4 separate regions of the Homo sapiens genome follow, and all the other regions are linked to region 1. The links are contacts of gene promoters, found by promoter capture Hi-C in blood cells and fetal thymus (Javierre and others, 2016). All regions are on one chromosome and are shown on one strand. Each heading gives the region's core, a stretch centred on a gene start or on the middle of the fragment in contact. The rest is flanking DNA. Distances are from core to core; before and after follow the strand shown. Region 1 holds the start of ABRAXAS2 (abraxas 2, BRISC complex subunit). Region 2 overlaps EDRF1 (erythroid differentiation regulatory factor 1). Region 3 has its middle 91 kb from the start of CPXM2. Region 4 overlaps CHST15 (carbohydrate sulfotransferase 15).

Region 1 (3,039 bases), core at 340-2,839:
GAGCGCAGTGGCACAATCTCGGCTCACTGCAATCTCTGTCTCCCGGGTTCAAGCGATTCTCATGCCTCAGCCTCCTGAGTAGCTGAGATTACAGGCATGCACCAGAATGCCCGGCTAGTTTTTGTATTTTCAATAGAGATGGGCAGAGGGGAGTGGGCAGGGTCTCACCATGTTGGCCAGGCTGGTCTTGAACTCCTTGTCAGGCCTCTGAGCCCAAGCTAAGCCATCATATCCCCTGTGGCCTGCACGTATACATCCAGATGGCCTGAAGTAACTGAAGAATCACAAAAGAAGTGAAAATGACCGGTTCCTGCCTTAACTGATGACATTACCTTGTGAAATTCCTTCTCCTGGCTTAGAAGCTCCCCGACTGAGCACCTTGTAACCCCCGCCCCTTCCCACCAGAGAACAACCCCCTTTGACTGTAATTTTCCACTACCTACCCAAATCCTATAAATCGGCCCCACCCCTATCTCCCTTGCTGACTCTCTTTTCGGACTCAGCCCGCCTGCACCCAGTTGAAATAAACAGCCTTGTTGCTCACACAAAGCCTGTTTGGTGGTCTCTTCACACAAACGCGCATAACACTCCTGACCTCAGGTTAACACTCCCCACACACGCCCCCCCCTCCCAAAGTGCTGGGATTACAGGCATGAGCCACCGCGCCCGGCCTCAAATGTTGGCTTTTTGTTTTGTTTTGTTTTTGAGACGGAGTCTTGGTCTGTCACCCAGGCTGGAGTGCAGTGGCGCGATCTCGGCTCACTGCAAGCTCCGCCTTCCAGGTTCACGCCATTCTCCTGCCTCAGCCTCCTGAGTAGCTGGGACTACAGGAGCCCGCCACCACGTCCGGCTAATTTTTTGTATTTTTAGTAGAGACGGGGTTTCACCGTGTAAGCCAGGATGGTCTCAAACTCCTGACCTCGTGATCCGCCCACCTCGGCCTCCCAAAGTGCTGGGATTACAGGCGCGAGCCACCACGCTCAGCCTAAATGTTGGCCTTTTTTTTTTTTTTTTTTTTTTTTTTTTGAGACGAAGCTTCGCTCTTGCTGCCCAGGCTGGAGTGCAATGGCACGATCTCGACTCACCGCAACCTCCGCCTCCCGGGTTCAAGCCATTCCCCTCCCTCAGCCTCCCGAGTAGCTGAGATTACAGGCATGTGCCACCACGCCCGGCTAGTTTTTGTATTTTCAATATAGACAGGGTTTCTCCATGTTGGTCAGGCTGGTCTCGAACTCCTGACCTCAGGTGATCCGCCCGCCTCGGCCTCCCAAAGTGCTGGGATTACAGGCGTGAGCCACTGCGCCCGGCTAGAATGTTGTCTTTTAATACTAAGGTTTCACTTGCAAAGGGAAAGAACTGTTTGCGGAACTATCAACCGCTGTCTGAGGCGTGTCGGGAGCGACACCCCTGCGGAGGATACGGTGCCGGGGTCCTTCCGATCGCAAAAACCGGCGTTCCTCAGCCTTCAAGACTGTGAGCGCTCAGGGCCCTCGGCCGCTGCCCGCCGCAGACTCCACTTCCCATGATGCCAAGGGGTCGGGCCGTCCGGAAGGCCGTGTGCCCTCCGCGGGGCATGATGGGGTAGCTGGAGATTTCCATCATGGCGGCGTCCATTTCGGGCTACACCTTCAGTGCTGTGTGTTTCCACAGCGCCAACAGCAACGCGGACCACGTAGGTGCCGGGCCCCCTGCCGCGCCCGCTGGGGGCTTTCAGCCTCTGTCTCAGGCCGGCGCTCGCGGCCAAGCCGGGACCTCATGCGGCTCGCCCCCTGGGCACCAGGGCCGGCCGGAGGAGCTGGTGACCCGGGCGGCTCCCGCCCCCGGTGAGCTCTTGCCTCTGGGGGCTCCTTCGCCCCTGGGACAGGCCCCCTGGCTTCGCGCTCTCAGCCGCTCGGCCGTCCCGGCACAGCCGTCTCCCGTGCAGCAAAACTGTCCCACCTGGCCTCCTGCAGTGTCAGGAGTCGCTCGGTGGAAACCGAGCGCCTGCCCCTCCCTGAAAGTCAGGCTTCTAGACTTAAGAGGGGCGCACGGGGTCGGGAAGGAATCTAAAGGCCGGGCGTTTAGTCCAGTAGGCGAGGTACTCAGCCCCGCCCGCCGGTCTCGCAGGTTGTCGTGGGGGTGCTGCGAGTGAAACCGTGGCTGTCACTACTGATACTTGTTAGACACGGTTGTGTGTTTTCTTCGCCCTGATGCAAAATGGAGAATGTATACAGGAGCGTTCGGTGCAGGGTCTATTTTGTATTTCCTTGAAGTTGCGTGTTTAGTTCTTTGTGACTAGTTCTTTCACTAGTCACAGTGAAATAGGGAAGTGACAGGCCCACTACTGAGTGATGGGAAATGCATAGGCTGTGAGCCCACAGGAGGAGCAGATCCTGTCTGTTTCAGTGTCTTTATTTTACAAATTGTCTTTTAACGTCATTGGCCTCTGATTGGAAATGCTTTGTGAAACTAGATCACTTCTCTCTTAAAGGAGGTATATAATTTGGCCACCAAATTGGGGGATTATTTTAAGTGATGTTAATAGTGAATGATTCAAACTCATTAAACCTATGTGTGGGGTTTTTGGTTGTCATTACAAAGCAAAATGGTACACTGCAGAAGGAGGAACTGCATTTGGTTTGATGTCAGCAATCTTAGCTTCCATTAATAAAAACTGATTTCACAGGGAGGTGATTCCATTAGTAAATTGAATGCAATTAAATTATTGTACCTTTCATCTCTTCAGTGTTGATGGTAGAACTTAATGATAGGAATAGGAATATATACATCATGGGTTTTTCCAGAAGCAGCTTTGAAGACTATGGCCTAGGGTACTACAACCAGCTATTTAATAATGTAATATAGTTCCATATGTAAGGGTTTGTGATACCCCTAGTGTCCATGGACTATTAAAAATGGGTCCTTTATTTCTTGAATGCCTACTAATATCACAGTTTATGTATATGGCAAGATTACTGTAAGAACAAGCAGCTACCTGTTGAAAAAAATTAATTCAAGAGATATCCCTTAATATCTACTCTGCAAGGCGTGGTGCTTGAC
Region 2 (3,039 bases), core at 397-2,896, 920 kb after region 1:
GTCGCTTAATGTAATTTTGGAGGTGTTTTGTGATAGGTGTTTTATATCATGCTGTGTTTTGCATAATATAAATGTGCAAGTCTTGAGAAATTAGTGATGAAATAAGATAAAACTTACCTGATTATTGAGTATCTTTTTTGTTGTTAAAGTATCATTGTTTACCACATTTGTATTTAAAGAGGAAGGAATAATCAATCCCCAAACACTGGCAGTGGTAATAATATATTGATGGTTATATTTTAATGATAGTAATTGAAACTGATAATAGTGTTTGGGATTATTCTGTATATGTTACCAGTTGAGTTACAAATGATATTTCTAGTAAAATCTATTGGATCCTTAGTGGCTTTGATCTGATATGCTAAAAGCCTGGGTCAGCATAACAGTGTGACGTATACACCCTTAACTTTAAGAAATCCTATCATGTAAAAATAAATGTTTGACTGTCACTAACATAATGTGACTCATAAAGTGTACGTGATTCTGGTTTGAAAGCTCCGTCCTCTGTGTGTTTGCATGTAGCTTTTTGTTTAAAGTTCTATTTGTATAACCTTAAGGAAATAAGGTTTATTATGCTTTAAAATGAATGAAGCTAAAATTTAAAAGATTCCAAATCACACTAAAACAGTCTTTCTAAACTATTTTTTCTCTTAATTTTTTAAGAACATAAAAAAACTCCTGAAAATTCCCTACAGCAAGTCGCACGTGAGCATGGCAGTACACCGCATAGGAAGGACTCTCTTACTAGATGAGCTAGATATTCAAGAACTCTTTATGAGATCGTCTCAGGTAATGCTTTTGTGAAAAAATCCAACAAAACATTAACAGCTTAAGAGCACTAGAAATACGATTTTGTTTCAGAGAATGGCCAAAGTGGAAATGTAGTTGAGTACTTCAACAATCGAGAAATTGAAAGTTTCACTGAAGATAGAAAAGCTTGAATGAAGAAAAAAGAAGAGAATGAGAATGGTGAAGAAAATTATTTTATTGATTCCAACAGCCAGATTCTTTTTTACAAGAAAAAAGATGAAGCCAATGAAGAAAGTTGTGAAAAAAACTGTGAAATTTAAGGGACTAGTTTAATATTTTTAAGAATCCTTTAACGTCTCCCTTAAACAGATTCTCAGGAAACACAGCTACTGGAAAATGTGAAAAATATTAGAAGCTGTTCCTATGAATAAATACAGTCATGTTCCCATAATGACGTTTCAGTCAGCGATGGACTGCATATACCGGTGGTCCCATAAGATTATAATATACTGTATTTTTACTGTATTTGCAGTGTTCAGATACACAAATACTTCAGTCACATGTACAGATTTGTAGCCTGGGAGCAATAGGCTATACCGTATGACCTAGGTAGGGAGTAGGCTGTACCATCCAGGTTTCTATAAGTAACACTCTGCGATGTTCACACCAGGACAAAATCACCTAATGACGCGCTTCTCAGAATATATCCCCATTGTTAAATGACACATGGCTGTAGTTATTAGAATTAATTGATGCTCTTTAGCCTAGATTCTCAAATTGTATGTTGGTAAGGACTGTTTTTCCCACATGTTGAGAATGGATACTTTTGAAAAACATAATAACATTGTTGCAGTTTCTCAAGAACTACCCTCCATATCTGTACTTTTCTTGGGCTGGCAAGAAATAGTTCATGGTCAGTCTTTAAAGAATATTACTACAGTGCTTTGATAAAGAAAATTAAATTATGGTGAGGTAAATGACATTTAAAATAAGTGCTTTTTTCCTTTGAAAAGACCACCGTTTAGTTCATCATGTGAGTATGAGCCTAGGCACGGGGATGTGACAGTGAACAAATCACAGGCCTTGCTCCTCAGCAGTTCATTGTTTGGGGTTATAAACACATACACAGATCATTTCAATATAGTGTGCAAAGTGGGAACTACTGCAGCTGCTAAGGAACATGTTATAGAGAAGACTCACCTCTCCCAGCCTGGCTTAGGAGGAGGAAGACGGGTTTCCTTTAGGAAACAAAAAACAAAAGAAAGGTGGTATGAATTGACCCAGAAAGATATGTTTTTAATGAGTATGTGTTTATGAAACTATTCAAAAAATAATAGGAGCCTTTTCTGTAAGCTAGTACTAGGTAACATTGTTTCGACTATGTGTGTTGTATTAATAATATGTATCTCATGTTATCCAGACTGGTGACTGGACATGGTTGAAAGAGTTTTATCAAAGACTCATTGATCAGAAGTGGCAGAGGAAGAAAAAGAGCAAAGAGCACTGGTATCAAAAGGCAATTCTTTCCAAGTTTTTATATTACAGGTACTTGGCTACTTATTTATCTCTAAAGAGAAAAAGGGAATTCTGATCTAAAATTTAGTGTGAAGCTTAATGAAGTTATAATTTAAGTTTTGCCCCTGTGATACTGTTAACATTTGTTTCATATTTCTTTTTTACAAGATGTATGCTTAATTACAGATTGTAGTTTTTATAAACGGGTAGACTGTTGCATGAAGTTAACTTTAGTAACAGCAATCCTTTTTTATTTCTGGTTTGGCCAGTATCAATGGTGATGGAGCCGCTCAGCCTGTCTCATCCACCGCAGAACAGCAGGAATCGTCCAGTTCAGATCAGACAAATGATTCGGAAGGGGCTTCATGGCCTGCTCCCTTCGAAATGCCTTCTTCAGTTTCTGAAGATCCCAGTGCTTCCAGTCAGGTTAGTACTTAAATGCTAATTCTAGAAACTCACATAGGAAAACAAAGCCTTTTTTAACATCTCGTTAAAAAAAAAAAAAGATGAACAGGACTAAGAAATATTCTGTCAGCTTATGGAATGGGGGAAAAAAGACTTCTGTCAATTTATGGAATTGGAGAAATACTTTTTAGTTTTTCGCAATAGAATTTACAAGAGCTATTATAGGTGGGGAGATCAGATTTTTTTATTAAATCGAAATATAATAGTTGACTGATATGTTTATTAATACTGATTATCTCCTTCAAGTGATGAGTATTATATAGAGATATAGTATATTTTAATTATAAATACTAGTCATTTTTAACTATA
Region 3 (3,039 bases), core at 235-2,734, 820 kb before region 1:
TAGATGGATTCACAGCCTAATTCTACCAGACATACAAAGAAGAGCTGGTACCATTCCTACTGAAACTATTCCAAAAAATTGAGGAAGAGGGACTCCTTCCTAACTCATTCTGTGAGGCCAGCATCATTCCAGTACCAAACCTGGCAAAGACCCAACAACAACAAAAAAAAGACTTCAGGACAATATCCTTGAACATAGATGCAAAAATCATCAACAAAATACTAGCAAACCAAATCCAAAGCCCATCAAAAAGCCAATCCATAACAATCAAGTAGGCTTTCCCTGGCATACAAAGTTGGGTCAACACACACAAATCAATAGATGTATTCATCACATAAACTGAACTAAAGGCAAAAACCACACGGTAATCTCAATAAATGCAGAAAAGGCTTTTAATAAAATTCAGCATCCCTTCCTGTTAAACACCCTCAACAAAGTAGGCATTGAAGGAACATGTTTCAAAATAATAAGAGCCATTTTCGACAAACCCACAGCCAACATCATACTGAATGGGCAAAAGCTGGAAGCATTCCCTTTGAGAACCAGAACAAGGCAAAGATGCCCACTCTTACCACTCCTTTTCAACATAGTACAAGAAGTCCTAGCCAGAGCAGTCAGGAAAGAGAAAGAAATAAAAAGCATCCATGGAGGAAGTCAAACTTTCTGTTGGCAGACAATATGATTTTATACCTAGAAAACCCCAGCCTCTGCCCAAAAGCTCCTAGACCTGATAAACAACTTTAGCCAAGTTTCCAGATACAAAACCAATGTACAAAAATTGGCAGCATTTCTGTACATCAATATCATCCAAGTTGAGTGCCAAATCAAGAACACAATCCCATTCACAATAGCCACAAAAGGAATGAAATACCTAGGAATACAGCTAACCAGGTAGGTGAAAGATCTCTACAACCAGAATTACAAAACCTACTGAAAGAAATCAAAGATGACACAAACAAATGAAAAAACATTCCATGTCCATGGATAGGAAGAATCAATATTGTTAAAATGGCAATATTGCCCAAAATAATTTACAGATTTAATGCTATTCCTATCAAACTACCAATGACATTCTTCACAGACTTAGTCAAAACTATTCTAAAACTTATATGGAACGAAAGAAAGAGCCCAAATAGACAACACAATCCTAAGCAAAAAGAACAAAGCTGGAAACATCACATTACCCTACTTCAAACTATACTACAAGTCTACAGTAACCACCACAGCATGTACAAAATAGACACATAGACTGATGGAACACAATAGAGAGCCCAGAAATAAAGCCTTAGAGCTACAGCCATCTGATCTTGGACAAAATCAGCAACAACAAAAAAGCAATGGGGAAAGGACTCTTTGTTCCACAAATGGTGCTGGGATAAGTGGTTATCCATATGCAGAAGATTGAAACTGGACCCCTTTTTTACACCATATACAAAAATCAACTCAAAATTAAAAATGTAAATGTAAAACCTAAAACTATAAAAAGCCTTGAAGAAAACCTAGGAAATACCACTGTAGAGATAGGCCCTGACAAAGATTTTATGACAAAAATGCCAAAAGCAATTGCAACAAAAATTGAAATGGACAAATAGGACCTAATTCAACTAAAGAGCTTCTGCACAGCAAAAGAAACTGTAAAACCGAGTAAATAGACAACCCACAGAATGGGAGAAAATATTTACAAACTATGCATCTGACAAAGGTCTAATATCCAGACACTATAAGGAACTTAAAAGAACTAACAAGCAAAAAACAAGCAACCCGATTAAAAAGTTGGCAAAGGACATGAACAGACGCTTTTCAAAAGAAGACATATATGTAATCAACAAGCATACAAAAAAATATTCAACATCACTAATCATTAGAGACATGCTAATCAAAACCACAATGAAATGACCATCTCAAACCAGTCAGAATGGCTATTACTAAAAAATCAAAAAATAACAGATGCTGGCAAGGCTGTAGAGAAAAGAGAAAACTTATACACTGCTAATGAGAATGCAAATTAGTTCAACCACTGTAGTAGAAAAGCAGTTCGGTGATTTCTCAAAGAACTTAAAACAGAACTACCATTTGACCCAGCCATCCCATTATTGGGTTTATACTCAAAGGAATATAAATCACTCTACTATAAAGACACATGCAAACATGTGTTCATTGCAGCACTATTCACAATAGCAAAGACAAGAAATCAACCTAAATGCCCATCAATTGTAGACTGAATAAAGAAAATGTGGTACGTATACACCATGGAATACTACACAGCCATTAAAAAGAACAAGATCTGTTCTTTGCAGGAACATGGATGGAGCTGGAGGCAATTATCCTAGGCACATTAATGCAGGAACAAAACACCAAACATCATGTATTCTCACTTGTAAGTGGAAGCTAAACATTGAGTATACATGGACACAAAGAAGTGAACAATAGACACTGGGGGCCGATTGGAGGGTGAGGAATGAGAGAAGGGTGAGGACCAAAAAAACTACCTATCAGGTACTATGCCTATTACCTGGGTGATGAAGTAATATGTACGCCAAATCCCCACAACATGCAATTTATCCCTAGAATCAACCTGCACATATACCTCTGAAACTAAAATAAAAGTTGAAAAAAAAAAAAAAGAAGCCGGGTGCAGTGGCTCATGCCTGTAATCCCAGCACTTTGGGAGGCTGAGGAGGGCGGATCACGAGTTCAGGAGATTGAGACCATCCTGGCTTACATGGTGAAACCCTGTCTCTACTAAAAAAATACAAAAAAATTAGCTGGGCCTGGTGGCAAGCACCTGTAGTCCCAGCTACTTGGGAGACTGAGGCAGGAGAATGGTGTGAACCTGGGAGGTGGAAGTTTGCAGTGAGCTGAGATTGCGCCACTGCGCTTCAGCCTGGGCATCACAGCGAGACTCCATCTCAAAAAAAAAAAAAAAAAAAAAAAAAAAGAAAAAGAAAATCTGAAAACGATTAAAAGGAATTAAGATTAAGAGAAAATCTGAAAAGATTAAGATTATGAGGAATAATGAATGAGGACCAACCTAGAATC
Region 4 (3,039 bases), core at 192-2,691, 790 kb before region 1:
GGGCCAGGCTGCCTTCCCTAGGTGTTCTCTCCACACCCAGTGCAGGCCAGCTGGCTGCATCCCCAAGCTCCAGGACGCTCAGAGCAGAGCTGAATTCTTGAGAAACTGGGGTCTCCAATGGCCTCGGATAGAGGAGCTCTGTGAGGGGTCCATTGCTGAGCTCTCGAACATCACGAAGGAAATTCCAAAATGGTTATAATTCATGTGTGCCTAGAGTGGCAGAGTCCTGGGGTTTTCCATACCATGAGTGAAACAGTTCCCCGCAAAGAGATTTGTAAAATCCTGATGATGACGGCATTGGCGGGCCCAGCACGTGCAGCAACAATTCAGCTCTCACGTCGTCTTCCACGCAAACGCCTCATCCGCGAGGACCTGCGCCAGCCTAGCGTTGAAGGGCCTGTAGAAATCCCGCAGAATCTTCTGTGTGATGGGCCACATGGGCCCCAGGTTCCGGTCCTCGGGACGCCGTGCATTGGATGCGGGGCTCTTGGTCATCAAAGCCTCCTGCTTCTCACTTAAGGGCCCTAGAATAAAAGAAGACGAGTCCCGTAAGGCAGGAGGCATGGCAGGAAGTAAAAGGGACTTTGCAAAAATCCCAGCTATGCTTCGTATTCAGACAGGAGTTTCCTTTAAGAGAACATATTTAGGGATTAAAATTCTTTGGCTGGATCCATTTTGGAAGCACTGAGGGAGGAAGGTGGAAACACCATCAGGAAATTGCGAAGAAATTCTGCGGCGGGTGCAGGATGCCCACCCTCGGGGGAGCCCAGCTGGCATTTAATGATGATACAGCGTCTAAGGCTGACCTCAAGGATTCCCTTCCAATTGCCCTTGGTGGGCTGCTCTCCATGGGTGTCAGCCCGTCCTTGGAGGAACGTGCGGCCTGCCGAGCACAGCCCACGGGTTTCGGTTTTCCTGCTCAGCAGCCCTCTGGAATTCCGCCATCATCGTTTCTACTTCAGGCTGCTCATGCCAAGGTCCCTGGGCCTGCACAGTTTCACCCTGTGCGTCTTGCTGTGAAGTGGCCATAGGGAGGAGGGCTGGGAGGAGGCCACTTGTGCCCAGAGCCCCCACTGGCTGAACCTCCATCTGCAGCAAGGAGATCAGGGAGAAGAGGCCTGCCGGCAAGGGCTGTCAGTCACCCCCACGCCCCGCCCTCTGGAGTGAGGCGAGGCCCTGGAACAGGCTGGCAGAGGTTGTCAGTCACCGCCACGCCCCGCCCTCTGGAGTGAGGAGAGGCCCTGGAAAAGGCCGGGAGGGGCTGTCAGTCACGCACACGCCCCGCCCTCTGGAGTGAGAGGCCCTGAAACAGAACAGCAAGGGCTGCGACCCCAACGCCCCGCCCTCTGGGCCACAGCTTCTTGGTGTAACCCATCACTGCTCAAGCCTCTTTACCGGGGGCTCTTGGGATCTGGCCAAAGTCCTTAGCCCATAGACAGAAAAAGCATGTCCCAGCATCCTAGGGCCATATGAAACACAGAATTGGCCTTACTATCCATCTTGGGGACAAAAGACAAGCTCATTAATGGGACAGAGTCAACATGTGGTCAAATCAAAGAAAGATGATTCTAAGCCTTGGAAGGGAAAGAACTCATCAAACTCCAAAAAAAGGAGAAACAAAATCAAATGATCAAAGAGGCCCAAGTCCCAGTGGCAGGCAGATATATTTTCAGAAATACTCAATTAACCAAGTTCCCGGGCAAGACCATTAGTCAGGGCTGCAGGAGGCGTTCTGGGAAGGAGGGCGGCTTGTTCGAGCCTGCTCAGCCTTTCAAGCCATCCCTCGGTGCCCCGTCCACATGGGCAGCACTCGCTCCGCCAGCACATGCCTCTGCCAGCCATCACCATAGTCAGCAGTGTGGCCTGTCACCACAAAGTGACTCTCAGGCCCCTGGGGGGGCTGGTATCCACAGGCTGAGGGCAGGCGCTCATGCCCCAGGGGCCCAGCATCCATGATCAGCAGCCAAAACTCAGCCACACGGCTCTGACTCCTGGAATTTCCAAGAATACCGGAGATGATGCAATGATCTGTCTGTTCCCTCCTCTAAGCCCCAAGTCCTCTGCTCCAGCCCCCCGGTGACATCCTGTTGGTCCTACAAAGCTCAGCTCTCAGGCCCTTTCCTTCCATGAAGCCTTCCTCATCCGTGCAGTAGCTGGGATCCCAAACCATCAGCACATACCTTACATGACAGTGCTGACCTTCCCCACGGCATCCTACCTGTCATTCAGTTAGGTGAGCTATGGCTTCCTCCTCTCCCTTCACTAGACCATAAGCTCCCAGAAGGGAAACCATCTCCTTCTCTCCAGAGAATCCCTCACCATACTGTGCACAATGACCTATGTACAGCTAGTGCTCAATAAATGGTACTTAACAGGCCTCCTGAAGGACATCCCCAGGCCTCCCAGCTCAGCCCATTCCCACCCAGCTGACCAGGTCTGCATTTGCCCCAGAGGACTCCCAGAACAAGTCCACGGAGCTCATGCTTTGGCCCGTCAGTCTAAGCACCACACTCATACCTAGGTTCAGAAACTGGAAGACCTTGTGCATGGTGTACTTGACGTTGGATGCATGATCTTCCAGGCGAAGAATGAGAAACTGTTGCTTGTCAAAAACGCTGAGCCAGTCCAGAAGGTACACAGCATAGAGCCCAACCTGGAGCCTCACCTAGGACCACAGAAGAAGGGCATTATTTCAGGAGCAGTTGCCCCAACACCATAGGGCACTTTTCCAAAGTGGTATGGCATTTCACTGTACCACAAAAGAGTTATCCTAGCAAAGTTACTTTCAGAAGCTGGATTTTAACACAAGGTGTTCTTGCTTCTTTATGGGGGGTTTTGTGCTACATGTGCAAAGAATTCCTATATTAGGGGTTGCATTTCATCCTCACAACACCCTGTGGGTAGCGCCATGCCTCCATTTCACAGGTAAGGACTGAAGTGCAGGGAAGAGGTCAAGGTTGTGGCCACCAATGGTGTACATGTTCCTCGCACAATATCCTGGCTGTTTCTCTGTTCCCAGTGTGACCTCTATGCCCAGCA

The links. The method cuts DNA at HindIII sites, captures the fragments that hold promoters and counts their contacts. A CHiCAGO score of 5 or more calls a contact.
Region 2: a contact is called between a fragment that was not itself captured here and the fragment with the promoter of ABRAXAS2 in region 1, in 2 of 17 cell types (monocytes and neutrophils). The highest score is 6.5, in monocytes.
Region 3: a fragment that was not itself captured here is called in contact with the fragment with the promoter of ABRAXAS2 in region 1 in 1 of 17 cell types (naive B cells); the score reaches 8.7 in naive B cells.
Region 4: a fragment that was not itself captured here is called in contact with the fragment with the promoter of ABRAXAS2 in region 1 in 1 of 17 cell types (naive B cells); the score reaches 5.1 in naive B cells.

The regions. Positions count from the first base shown.
Region 1 is chr10:124,800,230-124,803,268 of GRCh38, forward strand. ABRAXAS2 (abraxas 2, BRISC complex subunit) reads left to right here and starts at 1,590. Exons shown (of 9, transcript NM_032182.4): 1 at 1,590-1,672. The coding sequence starts at 1,601. RefSeq lists enhancers at 1,189-1,743, 1,416-1,685, 1,744-2,297 and a silencer at 1,786-1,865. The HindIII fragment of the contact is 5,454 bases long and covers 1,034-3,039 here.
Region 2 is chr10:125,723,148-125,726,186 of GRCh38, forward strand. EDRF1 (erythroid differentiation regulatory factor 1) reads left to right here. Exons shown (of 25, transcript NM_001202438.2): 4 at 664-789; 5 at 2,171-2,295; 6 at 2,535-2,691. Among named protein-coding and RNA genes, the nearest start is that of EDRF1, 5.0 kb to the left of the region's middle. The HindIII fragment of the contact is 1,424 bases long and covers 935-2,358 here.
Region 3 is chr10:123,981,529-123,984,567 of GRCh38, forward strand. No RefSeq gene overlaps it. Among named protein-coding and RNA genes, the nearest start is that of CPXM2, 91 kb to the left of the region's middle. The HindIII fragment of the contact is 4,167 bases long and covers 1-3,039 here.
Region 4 is chr10:124,009,816-124,012,854 of GRCh38, forward strand. CHST15 (carbohydrate sulfotransferase 15) reads right to left here. Exons shown (of 8, transcript NM_001270764.2): 7 at 2,518-2,665; 8 at 1-524. The coding sequence ends at 334. Among named protein-coding and RNA genes, the nearest start is that of CHST15, 82 kb to the right of the region's middle. The HindIII fragment of the contact is 4,917 bases long and covers 1-3,039 here.